Linked DNA regions of Homo sapiens: all the other regions are linked to region 3. The links are contacts of gene promoters, found by promoter capture Hi-C in human tissues and cell types (Jung and others, 2019). All regions are on one chromosome and are shown on one strand. The core of a region is centred on a gene start or on the middle of the fragment in contact, and the rest is flanking DNA. Distances in the headings are between cores, read along the strand shown. Region 1 has its middle 5.1 kb from the start of TPM2. Region 2 overlaps LOC124902150 (a long non-coding RNA gene). Region 3 holds the start of GALT (galactose-1-phosphate uridylyltransferase). Region 4 overlaps B4GALT1 (beta-1,4-galactosyltransferase 1). Region 5 has its middle 9.4 kb from the start of MIR6851.

Evidence for each region. The method cuts DNA at HindIII sites, captures the fragments that hold promoters and counts their contacts. A contact is called where the count stands out against the background at its distance.
Region 1: a fragment that was not itself captured here is called in contact with the fragment with the promoter of GALT in region 3 in 1 of the 25 tissues and cell types used here (dorsolateral prefrontal cortex).
Region 2: a contact is called between a fragment that was not itself captured here and the fragment with the promoter of GALT in region 3, in 1 of the 25 tissues and cell types used here (pancreas).
Region 4: a contact is called between a fragment that was not itself captured here and the fragment with the promoter of GALT in region 3, in 1 of the 25 tissues and cell types used here (small bowel).
Region 5: a contact is called between a fragment that was not itself captured here and the fragment with the promoter of GALT in region 3, in 1 of the 25 tissues and cell types used here (heart right ventricle).

What each region holds. Positions count from the first base shown.
Region 1 is chr9:35,693,667-35,696,366 of GRCh38, forward strand. No RefSeq gene overlaps it. Among named protein-coding and RNA genes, the nearest start is that of TPM2, 5.1 kb to the left of the region's middle. The HindIII fragment of the contact is 3,222 bases long and covers 1-2,700 here.
Region 2 is chr9:36,263,895-36,266,594 of GRCh38, forward strand. It overlaps LOC124902150 (a long non-coding RNA gene), which reads left to right. Exons shown (of 3, transcript XR_007061473.1): 2 at 1,527-1,680. It also overlaps a transcript of GNE not described here. Among named protein-coding and RNA genes, the nearest start is that of GNE, 6.8 kb to the left of the region's middle. The HindIII fragment of the contact is 4,032 bases long and covers 1-2,700 here.
Region 3 is chr9:34,645,225-34,647,924 of GRCh38, forward strand. It overlaps GALT (galactose-1-phosphate uridylyltransferase), which reads left to right and starts at 1,451. Exons shown (of 11, transcript NM_000155.4): 1 at 1,451-1,562; 2 at 1,865-2,034; 3 at 2,268-2,343; 4 at 2,433-2,481; 5 at 2,608-2,700. The coding sequence starts at 1,481. RefSeq lists enhancers at 1,196-1,305, 1,876-2,055. The HindIII fragment of the contact is 1,689 bases long and covers 198-1,886 here.
Region 4 is chr9:33,149,338-33,152,037 of GRCh38, forward strand. All of the region lies in intron 1 of B4GALT1 (beta-1,4-galactosyltransferase 1), which reads right to left. Among named protein-coding and RNA genes, the nearest start is that of B4GALT1-AS1, 16 kb to the right of the region's middle. The HindIII fragment of the contact is 4,121 bases long and covers 1-2,700 here.
Region 5 is chr9:33,457,218-33,459,917 of GRCh38, forward strand. No RefSeq gene overlaps it. Among named protein-coding and RNA genes, the nearest start is that of MIR6851, 9.4 kb to the right of the region's middle. RefSeq lists enhancers at 937-2,136, 1,381-1,540. The HindIII fragment of the contact is 5,989 bases long and covers 1-2,700 here.

The DNA.
Region 1 (2,700 bases), core at 184-2,683, 1.0 Mb after region 3:
TAGTGCAGAGACACAATCACGGCTTGGCTCACTGCAGCCTTGACCTTCTGGGCTCAAGTGCTCTCTCCGCCTCAGTCTCCTCCAGTAGCTGGGACTACACATGTGCACCATCATACCCGGCCCTTTTTTTTTTTTTTTTAAATAGAGATGGTGTGCCACTATGTTGCCTAGGTTGGTCTCAAACTCCTAGGCTCAAGCTACCCTCCTGCCTCAGCCTCCCAAAGTGCTGGAATTACAGGCCTGAGCCACTGTGCCTGGCCGATAATTGGCAGTTTCTTAAGGGGCAGTTGCAATGTAGAATGTGAAACCATATCAGTGACCTTTTTGTACTGTTAAACTAAAATCCGTTGTTTTGGCCAAGTGTGGTGGCTCACGCCTGTAATCCCAGCACTTTGTGACGCCAAGGTGGGTGGATCACCTGAGGTCAGGAGTTCGAGACCAGCCTGGCCAACATGGTGAAACCCTCCCGTCTCTACTAAAACTACAAAAATTAGTCAGGTGTGGTGGTGGCACACGCCTGTAATCCCAGCCACTCGGGAGGCTGAGGCAGGGGAATCACTTGAACCTGCGAGGCGAAGGTTGCAGTTAGCCGAGATTGCACCACTGCACTCCAGCTTGGGTGACAGAGCAAGACTCTGTCTCAAAAAAAAAAAAAAAATCCGTTTTTCTGAACTGCACCTGATTGGATCTTTTACCCATGCATAATTTTGTAACACCGTGCATTCGTCATATGGAAAATAATTGATTCACTGAGCTATGCAAATCTTCCAAATATTAATGTTTCATTATACATTATTTTAAAAATCACAATAGGTTTCAGGCCAGGTGCGGTGGCTCATACCTGTAATCCCAGCACTTTGGGAGGCCGAGGTGGGTGGATTGCCTGAGCTCAGGAGTTCGAGACCAGCCTGGGCAACATGGCAAAACCCTGTCTCTACTAAAAATACAAAAAGTTAGCTGGGTGTGGTGGCGGGCGCCTGTAGTCCCAGCTACTCAGGAGGCTGAGGCAGGAGAATTGCTTGAACCTGGGAGGTGGAAGTTGCAGTGAGCTGAGATTGCACCACTGCATTCCAGCCTGGGGAACAGAGCGAGACTCTGTCTCAAAAATAAATAAATAAATAAATAAATAAATTTTAAAAAAATCACAATAGGTTTCAACAGTAAAGTCTTTGTTTTTCTTCATAGTATTATACTGGAGAACAGTAAAGTCTTTAAGTTTTAAATTTTGGGAAGCTGTGAAGCTCATGTAGCAAATACAAGTGTTCCAAAATTCGATTTTTCACTTGAAAGCTTGAATTATATCATTGGCAACAAACACTGTCAGATTTTTCCCTGAAGTGACAGACTCACTTTGTTCCTTTTTAGAAAAGTTCTGCCAGCTACCTAAATCTGATAACCACAGTTTGTCGGCCATTCTTTTGAGTAAACGTGGCATTCCATAAAAGAGCAGCTAGTTCAGCTCACAACTCAAAGAATGGCCTAAGTTATTTCCTCCAGAAAACCATCATACTTTGGTATGCAAAATGTCTTATGCATACTTCCCACTTTATCAGACAGAATGTTGAAAAGCCTTTTCCTTAAGGATTAAGGTTTAATTAAATTAATACATTTAGGCTGGGCGTGGTGGCTCACGCCTGTAATCCCAGCACTTTGGGAGCCTGAGGCAGGCAGATCATGAGGTCAGGAGTTCAAGACCAGTCTGGCCAACATGGTGAAACCCTGTCTCTACTAAAAATACAAAAATTAGCTGGGCATGATGGCATGTGCCTGTAATCCCAGCTTCTCGGGAGGCTGAGGCAGGAGAATTGCTTGAACCGGGACACAGGAGGTGGAGGTTGCAGTGAGCCGAGATCACGCCACTACACTCCAGCCTGGGCTACAGACCGAGACTCCGTCTCAAAAAAAAAAAAAAATTTTTTTTTTTTACTTCATCAAGGACATTTTTTTTGAGTCTTGCTCTGTTGCCCAGGCTGGAGTGCAGTGGCGTGATCTTGGCTCACTGCAACCTCCGCATCACAGGTTCAAGCAATTCTGGTGCCTCAGCCTCCCAAGTAGCTGGGAATTACAGGTGTGCACCACCATCCCCAGCTAAGGAAAATAATGTCTTGGTATTTTTATGAAAATAATTTTGACCTATGGACCCCTGAAAAGGTCTTAGGGAACCCTAGGGGTCTGAGGACCACATTTGAAGAGCTGCTGGTTTAATAGGTTTTAAAGCCTCTCCCCAGATGGCTCCCAAGGTATCACTAGTGAGAAGTATGTGATTGGTCCCAGTTCCTGAGGACATGACAAGGAAATGGTAACAGGAGTAAGCAGCTGTCCTGGGCTCCTAGCTGGAGTTCAAAGTCTAGACTGCCACTTGTCGGGGAGGTTATAGAAGGGATTTGATCTCCAAGGTCCTCAACTGATACTATGACATTGAATCTGGGATTAGGGAGCCCCCACAGTATGTACTGGAGTTGCCAGTCCTCTGCGTCAGAGAAGTGATAATACATCTCAATTTTCCAGTGCTTAGCACAAGCATGGCTTAGTAAATATTGAATGAATGAATCACAGGTGATAGGAGTGATGGTAGGAGGTTGGCACCATCCCTAATGGGCTGTCCTAGAGTTCCATCTACTTTCTTAGAGAAGGGCTCTCACTCCGTCACCCAGGCTGGTGCACAGTGGCACCATCATAGCTCACTGCAGCCTTGAACTC
Region 2 (2,700 bases), core at 201-2,700, 1.6 Mb after region 3:
ATGTGCATGTTAAAGTAGCTCTCTGAAACATCTGGACTGGGGAATACGGAGAGGACTGGCCAGTTGGAAATGAAAGGAAAATGGGGCACCTTAAAAACATAGTCACAGATAGCTGTGAGAGGTAGCACAGGGAGGCCATAGGGAGAGAATCCAGGCCCTGACTTGACTTGAATCCTGAACAACTTTCTGATTTTAATCTACATGTATCCTTAAATCATCTTTTTATTTATTTATTTATTTTATTATGTTTTTTTTGGAGACAGAGTCTCACTCTGTCACCCAGGCTTGAGTGCAGTGGTGCTATCTTGGCTCACTGCAACCTCCACCTCCCAGGTTCAAGTAATTTTTGTGCCTCAGCTTCCCAAGTAATTGGGACTACAGGCAGGCACCACGATGCCCGGCTAAGTTTTTTTGTATTTTTTATAGAGATGGGGTTTCGTCATGTTGCCAGGATGGTCTCCAACTCCTGAGCTCAGGCAATCCGCCTGCCTTGGCCTACCAAAATGCTAGGATTACAGGCATGAGCCACCGTGCCTGGCCTAAATCCTCTTTTTAAAAAAGATGCCCTGTTCCTTGCATTCAGAAGATACTAACAGTAAAACTGTGAGCCAGGGAGAATCCCCAACCTTATTTCGATCCCCACTTCCAACCGATTGATGGTGGCTGCCTGGAGAACTGTGTCAAAAATGACTCTGGGGCTAGAGTTTACTGGAAAAGAGTATGTACTGTTGAGAGACAGGACTAGCTGGATTTCCTAGGCCGACTAAGAATCCCTAGGCCTAGTTAGGAAGGTGACCGCATCCACCTTTAAACATGGGGCTTGCAACTTAGCTCACACCCGACCAATCAGGTAGTAAAGAGAGCTCACTAAAATGCCAATCAGACAAAAACAGGAGGTAAAGAACTAACCAATCATCTATTGCCTGAGAGCACAGTGGGAGGGACAATGATCAGGATATAAAGCCAGGCATTCCAGCCGGCAACGGCTACCCTCTTTGGCTCCCCTCCCTTTGTATGGGAGCTGTGTTTTCACTCTATTAAATCTTGTAACTGCATACTCTTCTGGTCCGTGTTTGTACCGTGTTTGTTACCGCTCAAGCTAAGCTTTCGCTCGTTGTCCACCACTGCTGTTTGCCGCAGTCGCAGACCCGCCGCTGACTTCCACCCCTCCGGATCTGGCAGGGTGTCTGCTGTGCTCCTGATCCAGCGAGGCGCCCACTGCTGCTCCCGATCGGGCTGAAGGCTTGCCGTTGTTCCTGCACGGCAAGTGCCTGGGTTCGTCCTAATTGAGATGAACACTAGTCGCTGGGTTCTACGGTTCTCTTCCATGACCCACGTCTTCCAATAGAGCTATAACATTCACCGCATGGCCCAAGATTCCATTCCTTGGAATCCGTGGGGCCAAGAACCCCAGGTCAGAGAACGAGAGGCTTGCTGCCATCTTGGAAGCAACCCGCCACCATGTTGGGAGCTCTGGGAGCAAGGACCCCCGGTAACATTGTGATGTCTGCCATGTTGTTTTCTAGGGAGATGGAAGGGAGTCAAGGATGTTGCCATGTATGTGCCATCTCTGCCCTAAGCCAATATCATGAAGAAATCAACAAGAGGTGGAATAAACTGAGCAATTCATCACCATATTAAGCTGGATATTCCTGTTTAGTAAATATCTTTCCCTAGCTGGTAAGTATCTCACCCCATACTGTATCTCAGCCACAACACTTTTAATTACCAGAGTCTCTAGGGCAGCGGTCCCCAGTCTTTTTGGCACCAGGGACTGGTTTCCTGGAAGACAGTTTTTCCATGGGAAGTGGGGGTGGGGATGGTTTCAGGATGAAACTGTTCTACCTGAGATCATCAGGCATTAAATTCTCATAAGGAGCGTTCAACCTAGGTCCCTAGCATGCGCCGTTCACAATAGGATTTGTGCTTCTATGAGAATCTGATGCCACCACTGTTCTGACAGGAGGAGGAATGTAGACGGTAATGCTTGCTTGCCTGCCATTTATCTCCTATTATGCGGCCCAGTTATTTTTTTATTTTATTTTATTTTTTTGAGACGGAGTCTCACTCTGTCACCCAGGCTGGAGTGCAGTGGCGCAATCTTGGCTTCTTGGCTCACTGTAAGCTCCACCTCCCGAGTTCAAGTGATTCTCCTGCCTCAGCCTCCCGAGTAGCTGGGATTACAGGCATGCGGTCTGGCTAATTTTTGTATTTTTAGTAGAGACGGGGTTTCATCATGTTGGCCAGGCTGGTCGAGAACTCCTGACCTCAAGTGATCCACCCACCTCAGCCTCCCAAAGTGTTGCGATTACAGGCATAAGCCACCGCGCCCGACCTGGCCTGCGGCCCAGTTCTTAACAAGACACTGGCCAGTACCAGTCCATGGCCCAGGGGTTGGGGACCCCCTACTCTAGAGTATACAGAGGTAAAACACACCTTACAAACCAGATATCACTGCATACGCCAGATTGTTTATAGCCTCCCCAGAAAAGAAAATTGCTCCTGTTGCAGAATAGCCTTATGAGGCTACACTACATGGGGAAAGCAATTCTTTTCTCCCAGGAAAAGCATGTAAGGATTAAGATTATATTGGCTGAGGCCAGGAGTAGTGGCTCATGCCTGTAATCCCAGCAGTTTGGGAGGCCGAGGCAGGTGGATCACCTGAGGTCAGGACTTTGAGACCAGCCTGGTCAACACGGT
Region 3 (2,700 bases), core at 201-2,700:
CTTTAAAAGTACTGGGGGCCAGCTGTTTGGGAGGCTGAGGCAGGAGGATCACTTGAAGTCAGGAGTTCAAGACCAGCCTGGCCAACATGTGAAACCCCGTCTCTACTAAAAATACATAAATTAGCCCAGTGTGGTGGCACACAGCTCTAATTCCAGCTACTTGGAGGCTGAGGCAGGAGAATCGCTTGAACCTGGGAGGTGGAGGTTGCAGTGAGCCAAGATCACGCCACTGCACTCCAGCCTGGGTGGCAGAGTGAGACTCTCTCTCAAACAAACAAACAAACAAAAGTACCAGGGGAGGAATTAATTTGAATTTTATCCTAGTGTTAGCCAATTGGTCCCATCCAAGGAAAATTTAGAAAAGGGAAGGGGATGTGTAAAGGAAACACTAGGCCCCACCTAGATGGTGGCTGGAGCTTCTGATAGTCCTGTACTCTCCACATTTTTAGACTTTCTTGTACTTTTTTTTTTTTTTTTGTGACGGAGTCTGCTCTGTCGCCAGGCTAGAGTGCATGGGCACAATCTCGGCTCACTGCAACCTCTGCCTCCTGGGTTCAAGTGATTCTCCTGCCTCAGCCTCCCGAGTAGGTGGGACTACAGGTGCACGCCACCAAGACCAGCTAATTTTTTTTTTTTTTTTTTTTACTAGAGACGGGGTTTCACCATGTTGGCCAGGATGGTCTCAATTTCTTGACCTTGTGATCCGCCTGCCTTGGTCTCCCAAAGTGTTGGGATTACAGGCGTGAGCCACCGAGCCCGGCCATTTTTAGATTTTTTTTTATAGCCCTTTTACCCCTCCCACTTCTTGTGCTGTCTTGGTGTGTGTATGAAAAAGAGAGAGAGAGAGAGAGGAAGGAGAGCAAGAGTGAGAGAAAAAGAGAATATGGTTACTTAGCCCTTTTTCCCAAATCTGTTTTTGCTTTTGGGGATAGGATATGGTTATGGTGAAGTACTCCACACAGACCCCACCAAGTTTGCCTCTCCTGCGCTACAGCCACTGAGCAGGTGACTGAGGCGCTGTTGATCCAGGGTCATATCCTTACTCGCCCTAGAATGTAAGCTCAGGCAGGGCAGAGGCCATGCCTGACATGTGCATCCCAATGCTTTACACAGCCTAGGTGCCTAGCACATGCTAGATGCTTGGTAAATATTTGCTGAATGAAAGATCAAATGAATGATTGCAGCAAGCAAGTCCTGTAGGCATCCTGGAGCCCAAGGATTCTGCAGTAGGCAGCTTTCACAGAGGTTCTTCCAGTGTAGTGGCTCTAGCTCTGGGTGAAGTAGGATCATCAATGTCGGCCCCCAGGGTTCACAGCTGTTCTGAGCCCCGCCCCCAGGTGGCAGGGCAGCCCAGTCAGTCAGTCACGTGCTGGCGGCTGGCCAATCATCGGGGGCGGCGCGGGGAGGGGTGGTGTGGACGGAGAAAGTGAAAGGTGAGGCACGGCCCTGCAGATTTTCCAGCGGATCCCCCGGTGGCCTCATGTCGCGCAGTGGAACCGATCCTCAGCAACGCCAGCAGGCGTCAGAGGCGGACGCCGCAGCAGCAACCTTCCGGGCAAACGGTAACTGCACCGCGGCAGGGACTCGCTGGGGCGCGGAGCCGAGCCCTCCCCTTCCTTAGGAAGCTTTCGTCCCCTCCGAAGGTTGGAACGCTCATCCCGAGCCAGACCGACAAGGCGTACAGTCTGCAGGCCTGTACGAGCAGCAGGCCAATTGGCGCTGGGAAAGTCCAATCCTGGGCCTCTAGCTCCTGAGCGGGACAGGGCCGAGAGGGCGCTCCCGAGCTTGGGCCTGCTGGTGGGTGAGACCCAGGAGAGAGGGAGCTAGAGAGCTCTGAGGACTGATCTTGACTGTCTGCCCCCAGACCATCAGCATATCCGCTACAACCCGCTGCAGGATGAGTGGGTGCTGGTGTCAGCTCACCGCATGAAGCGGCCCTGGCAGGGTCAAGTGGAGCCCCAGCTTCTGAAGACAGTGCCCCGCCATGACCCTCTCAACCCTCTGTGTCCTGGGGCCATCCGAGCCAACGGAGAGGTAAGCCTGTAGAGCCCTGCATCTGCAGGCTGGGCCACGGGGAGTAGTTCCCTCTTAGAACTGTCCTCCACCCACAGGGATAGTGAACCTCCTTCTGGGTCATATCCCACCAAGCTTTTTGGTCCCCTAGGGTGGGCCTTCCCTACTCCCTTGTAGCCTGTCCAGTCTTTGAAGCCCACCAGGTAACTGGTGGTATGGGGCAGTGAGTGCTTCTAGCCTATCCTTGTCGGTAGGTGAATCCCCAGTACGATAGCACCTTCCTGTTTGACAACGACTTCCCAGCTCTGCAGCCTGATGCCCCCAGTCCAGGTAACCTGGCTCCAACTGCTGCTGGGGAGGAGGGTGGCTAGACCTCTTGAGGGACTTCTGCTGCAGAGAGTGATACTCCTTTACCTCAGGACCCAGTGATCATCCCCTTTTCCAAGCAAAGTCTGCTCGAGGAGTCTGGTAACTATGGATTTCCCCTCTTACAACTTTCAAACCAGAGTTGGAGACTCAGCATTGGGGTTCGGCCCTGCCCGTAGCACAGCCAAGCCCTACCTCTCGGTTATCTTTTCTCCCGTCACCACCCAGTAAGGTCATGTGCTTCCACCCCTGGTCGGATGTAACGCTGCCACTCATGTCGGTCCCTGAGATCCGGGCTGTTGTTGATGCATGGGCCTCAGT
Region 4 (2,700 bases), core at 1-2,500, 1.5 Mb before region 3:
TGGCGTGATTTCAGCTCACTGCAACCTCCGCCTCCCAGGCTCAAGCAAGCCTTGTGCCTCAGCCTCCTGAGTAGCTGGAACTACAAATGCGCCACCACGCCAGGCTAATTTTTTGTATTTTTTATAGAGATGGCGTTTCACCATGTTATGTTGGCTAGGATGGTTTCAAACTTCTGACCTCAAGCAATTTGCCCGCCTCAGCCTCCTAAAGTGCTGGGATTACAGACATGAGCTACTACGCCCGGCCAGATAGTTTTAATTTAAAATGGTAAAATAGTAACTATAATGGAGTAATGCCAAATGCCACTACAATGAAATCCTCAAGGTTCACACTGCCAATAAGGAACAAACTGACAGTGTGTGTCTCTAGATCTCGTTACACTGAGAAGAACTCAGCATCATTTCAGTGGTATTCCTGTCAAAAGTGAATAACCTGAATCTGATCAGGAGGAAACATCAGACAGACCTAAACTGAGAGACCTTCTACAAAATAACTGGCCTGTACTCTTCAACAATGTCACTGTCATGAAATCCAAAGGGCTTGGGAATTATTTCAGATTACAAGACACTAAGAGACATGACAACTGAATACAACACATGGTTTTCTTCTACCATCAAGGCTATTATTGGGGCACCTGACAAAGTCTTCCTAAGGCCTGTAGATGACATAGCAGAAATGTTTCAATGTTGATGTCCTGATTGTTAATTATACTATGTTTATATATATATTTTTAAATCACCTTGTTGTTAGGAAATATACACTGAATATTTAAGGGTAAAAGGAGATATATATAGATATAGATATAGATATATACACACACACATATATATGAGAGAGAGAGATCTAGATACATCTATCTAAAATTATATTAATATCTATCTATCTACAGGTAGATACACACACACACACACACACACACACACACACAGAGCGAGAGAGAGAGAGAGAGAGAAGGAAAAAGTAAATATAGTAAAATGTTAACATTTAGGGACTCCAAAGGATATCCAGGAATTCTTTGTATTAGTCTAACAACTTTTCTGTAAGTCTGAAGTTATGTCAAACTTTTTAAAAATAAAAAAAAAAAACAGAACTGGATGAAAAACATATAATCAAAATGAGCTATAAAATGCCATTTACATATGTTTAAAAAAATGTATATATACTGTGTGACTCCATTTATGTGACATCCTCAAAAAGACAAAACAATAGTAATGAAGAATAGATCAGTGGTTGCCTGGGATTAAGGGTGGGAGGAGAATGTGACTACAAGAGGGATTTTTTTGGGGTGATGGAACTGTTCTGTATCCTGATTGTGGTGGTAGATACACAAAAATATGTATGTGTTAAAATTTATAGACTATATGCCAAAAAGCCAATTTTATTGTAGGTTAATCTAAAAAAATTTTTTTTAAAGTTAAGAATACATCTATGTATAAAGCAGTGGCTTCCATTTTGGCAAGAGCAAAAACAGATACACAAACTATAAATACGTTAGAATAGTTGCCTGTGATATACCTGGGAAATAGAAGTGGGAATGAGGACAAAATAAAACAAATACATGAGGCAAGAGAGTCCATGAGTAGACCCCAATGATGATTATTGGCCATGAAAGGAAGCTTGATGGCTGGATGGAAAGAAGGAAGGAAGGAAGGAAATAAGTAAGGGAGAGATGGCGGATGGAGCTGGATGTGTCCTTCCAGGGCTGTACAAAGGAGGGGGACCCCAACCCCTAGTCCAGACAAAGGTCCCTAAGGCAGGTGTACAGTATTGTGGGGATGAATTCATCAGCCACGAGAGACTGACCCATCTAATGTTAAATTCACTTCCCTGCTCTGACTGCTGACTCACCAGCAGTTAGCTTATCCTGCGGCTTCCCTTGCAGTGAATTCAGCCAGAGATTTCTAAGCTACTCAATAACAGTTCTAATCTTCCCAGTAAAGCTGCAACTTTGCATTCCAGTATGTAAGTAAGTCTCCTGGGAGTTTTATTACTGAGTCAGCTGCCCCTCTAATCAGTTTTGGAGCCCCAGCAGATTTTCTGGAGCTGCGGTGCTGACTACGAGCACATCCTTCTCTCTCCACCTAGAACCAGACCTTGGACTGTGGAGGGCCCACTACTCCTATGGGCCATCTGGGCACTCAGCCAGCCAAGTACTCCTGGCAATATCTCTCTGGTGTCAGGACTACTTTAAATGTAGCCAGCTCCAATTTCCTTCTCTAAGGAGTGGGGATAATTATGCCTTCCTTTCAGATGTAAGTGAAATAATACATATACATACTTATCGCATGTTCTTATTGAGCTAATAGATGTTCAATAAATGTTACTTTCCCTTCTCCCCTGACTCCTTAGAACTTCAGAGCTTACAAATTACTACAGCTCTATCAGCACACATGGCTAAATTTTCACATTTCTACTCTTAGCCACTAGAATCACTGATAGATTTGGAGGAAAACTCTGGGACCTTAAAGGGTCCCTGGAGTATTACATAAAGCTTCTTGCAGCATGAGAGTTGAACAGAAATTCTGTTCATCTTTTGCTGTCGAAGCCAAGTTGGTGGCTTCTAAAGAACCAACTTAGAAGAAAACTCAGGAGAAAAATTTTATCATTTTGGGATGGTGAAGACCTGCTTAAGTATGAAAGCAACCTGAAGTCATAAAGGAAAACATAGATTTAAACACATAAAAATTCAAAACTTCTGG
Region 5 (2,700 bases), core at 52-2,551, 1.2 Mb before region 3:
TTGGGAGATGGGGGTGGGGGCATTGTGGAGGTTGTGGAGGGAGACTGGGGAGAGGGCAGGATGCCATAATTTTCTTTTTTTTTTTTCTGAGATGGAGTCTTGCTCTGTCACCCAGGCTGGAGTACAGTGATGCAATCTCAGCTCACTGCAACCTCTGCCTCCCGGGTTCAAGCAATTCTCCTGCCTCAGCCTCCTGAGTAGCTGGGATTACAGGCACGTGCCACCACACCCAGCTACTTTTGGTATTTTTAGTAGAGACGGGGTTTCACCATATTGGCCAGGCTGGTCTCGATCTCCTGACCTCATGATCTGCCCGCCTCGGCCTCCCTAAGTGCTGGGATTACAGGCGTGAGCCACCGTGCCTGGCCATAACTATCCTCTTCATCCAAACCGTTGGTCATCAAGTGGAACTGGGGCTCAGTCTGAGTGCTTCCTTGCCCCTCCAGACAGGGCCCAACCTTGGCCTCTTCAGTCCTGGGGAGACCCAAGCCCTGACCTGTGGAAGTTTCCAATCTGGGAGAATAGAGGAGAGCTGGGTCCTGCTTTTGAGCTCCCAGGCCAGGGAACAGAGGAGATTTAGGCTTGAGCTGAGGTTGACCAGAATGCTCATACTCCCTCTCTCCCTGCACAACCCCACTCTCCATATCCTTCACCCTGCTCCTCTGGGCTGCTGATAAAAGCTGCATTCAAAAGCCTTGGGCAGGCCGGGCACAGTGGCTCATGCCTGTAATCCCAGCACTTTGGGAAGCTGAGGTGTGTGGATCACCTGAGGTCAGGAGTTCCAAGACCGGCCTAGGCAACATGGTGAAACCGCCCCCCACCCTGTCTCTACAAAACTACAAAAATTAGCCAGGCATGATGGCGAGTGTCTGTAATCCCAGCTACTTGGGAGACTGAGACAGGGGAATCGCTTGAACCTGGGAGGCGGAGGTTACAGTGAGCCGAGATCGGGCCACTGCACTCCAGCCTGGGCGTCTCAAATAAAAAAAAAAATAATAATAATAAATAAATAAAAGGCTTGGGAAGAAGGAGAAGGGGTTAGGCTGGCAAGTGGCCCAAAACAGGTGAGGCTCCTGGCTTTTCCCTACTCCCCTGCCCCACTGGAGAGGTCTGCAGCTCAGGCGTTTCTAGTCCTTTCTTCCTCCACACTCCACCCCTTGGCCCCAGGAAAGCCAAGTTCAAGCAGGTGGCTTGCCTGGAGCCAGGACACCTAGATTCTCAGTAGCTGTACCCCACAAGTTCCTGTGTGACCCTAGACAAGTTCCTACACATCTTGGCCTGATATAAACCAGAAAATTATACTCCCCATTCATTTCTGAAGTAGAAGAGGAAGTCTCCCTCTGGTTTGAAACACCCTTCTTCTTGGTCCTCCTTGGTTCCCTGGGGCAGTGTGAGATGCCTCCTCCTTCTCCCTCTCAGGGGTAGATGAGCAGATTGGCCTTTCCTGTGAAGGGTACGGGTGACTCACGTGCCCCAGGCTTCCCCTCGCCCTTATCACTCACCTGGATTAATCTGTGACTCATAAAGCAAGTACCGGATGTTGGGGGGGTTACATGTAAACTTGGGGGAGGGGGGCTGGCTAGCCTAAATCTGACTTAATAGGTCAGGGACTGAGCAGCCCTGAGGATTTCATTGATATAACATGCCATATGGACCCCTTAGGCTTGGGGTTCTTGCTTTCCTCCCCCAAAGTATGGAGCTGGGCAGAGGAAAATAGGGTCTTCAGCTAACAGGATTCGGGGGTAGAGGAGGTTGTCAGATGCCATAGCCAGAAAGGAGGGCCCTTGTTGAGTTCACCAAATGAGGCTTAGGTCAGTCAGAACACGGGAAACTCTGTATCCTAGCACTTTGGGAGGCCAAGATGGGAGGATCACTTGAGCCCAGGAATTTGAGACCAGCCTGGGCAACATAGTGAGACCCCCAGTCTCTTTAAAAAAAAAACAAAACAAAAAAAACTGGGAAAAGTGAAACCCCAAGAAGAAAGCTTCATTTAAAGCCAGGGGAAGAAATCCAGGGTCCCTGCCTCTGACTTGAGAGCTTTTTCTAACCTGCCCTCTAAAAAACAGGGCAGAGTTCCCCTTTTGCAGCAAACCAGAGCTGGAGGTGAATACCGACAGACAGACAGACTAGTGCATACAGAGGCGTGCACGTGCACCACACACAGAACAGACAAATCATGCCATACTTAAGATCCACTCTGTCTCTGTCCACCTGTGAAGTTAAAGGCAGAGACCCACCAAGGCAGGCACATCCATGAGGGTGCTTAACCATTATCCTGTGTACACTTGCTCACACATAAGGCTTCCTGCTAGGCTTTTCCCCTTCCCTTCCCCTGGGGTTCTGGTTCCTGACTGCCCATCTCCACCCTCCCCTCCCCTGGCCCCTCAGCTAAAGCCTGAGCACCTCCCTACTCTGGAGCTGGGGCCTCTGTGGCTAGACAAGAGTCATCCTGGGCTGGGGCAAAGGAGCCTAGGGCAGTCATCTTGAACACTAGTTTGCTCACCTGTTTTCCAGAGAAAACCTGAGGAAAACAGGTTGGAGCTGTAACTGTGAGGGACTGAAATTAGGGCCAGGCACAGTGGTTCACGCCTGTAATTCCAACACTTTGGGAAGCTGAGGTGGGTGGATCACCTGAGGTCAGGAGTTCGGGACCAGCCTGGCCAACATGGCGAAACCCCGTCTCTACTAAAAATACAAAAA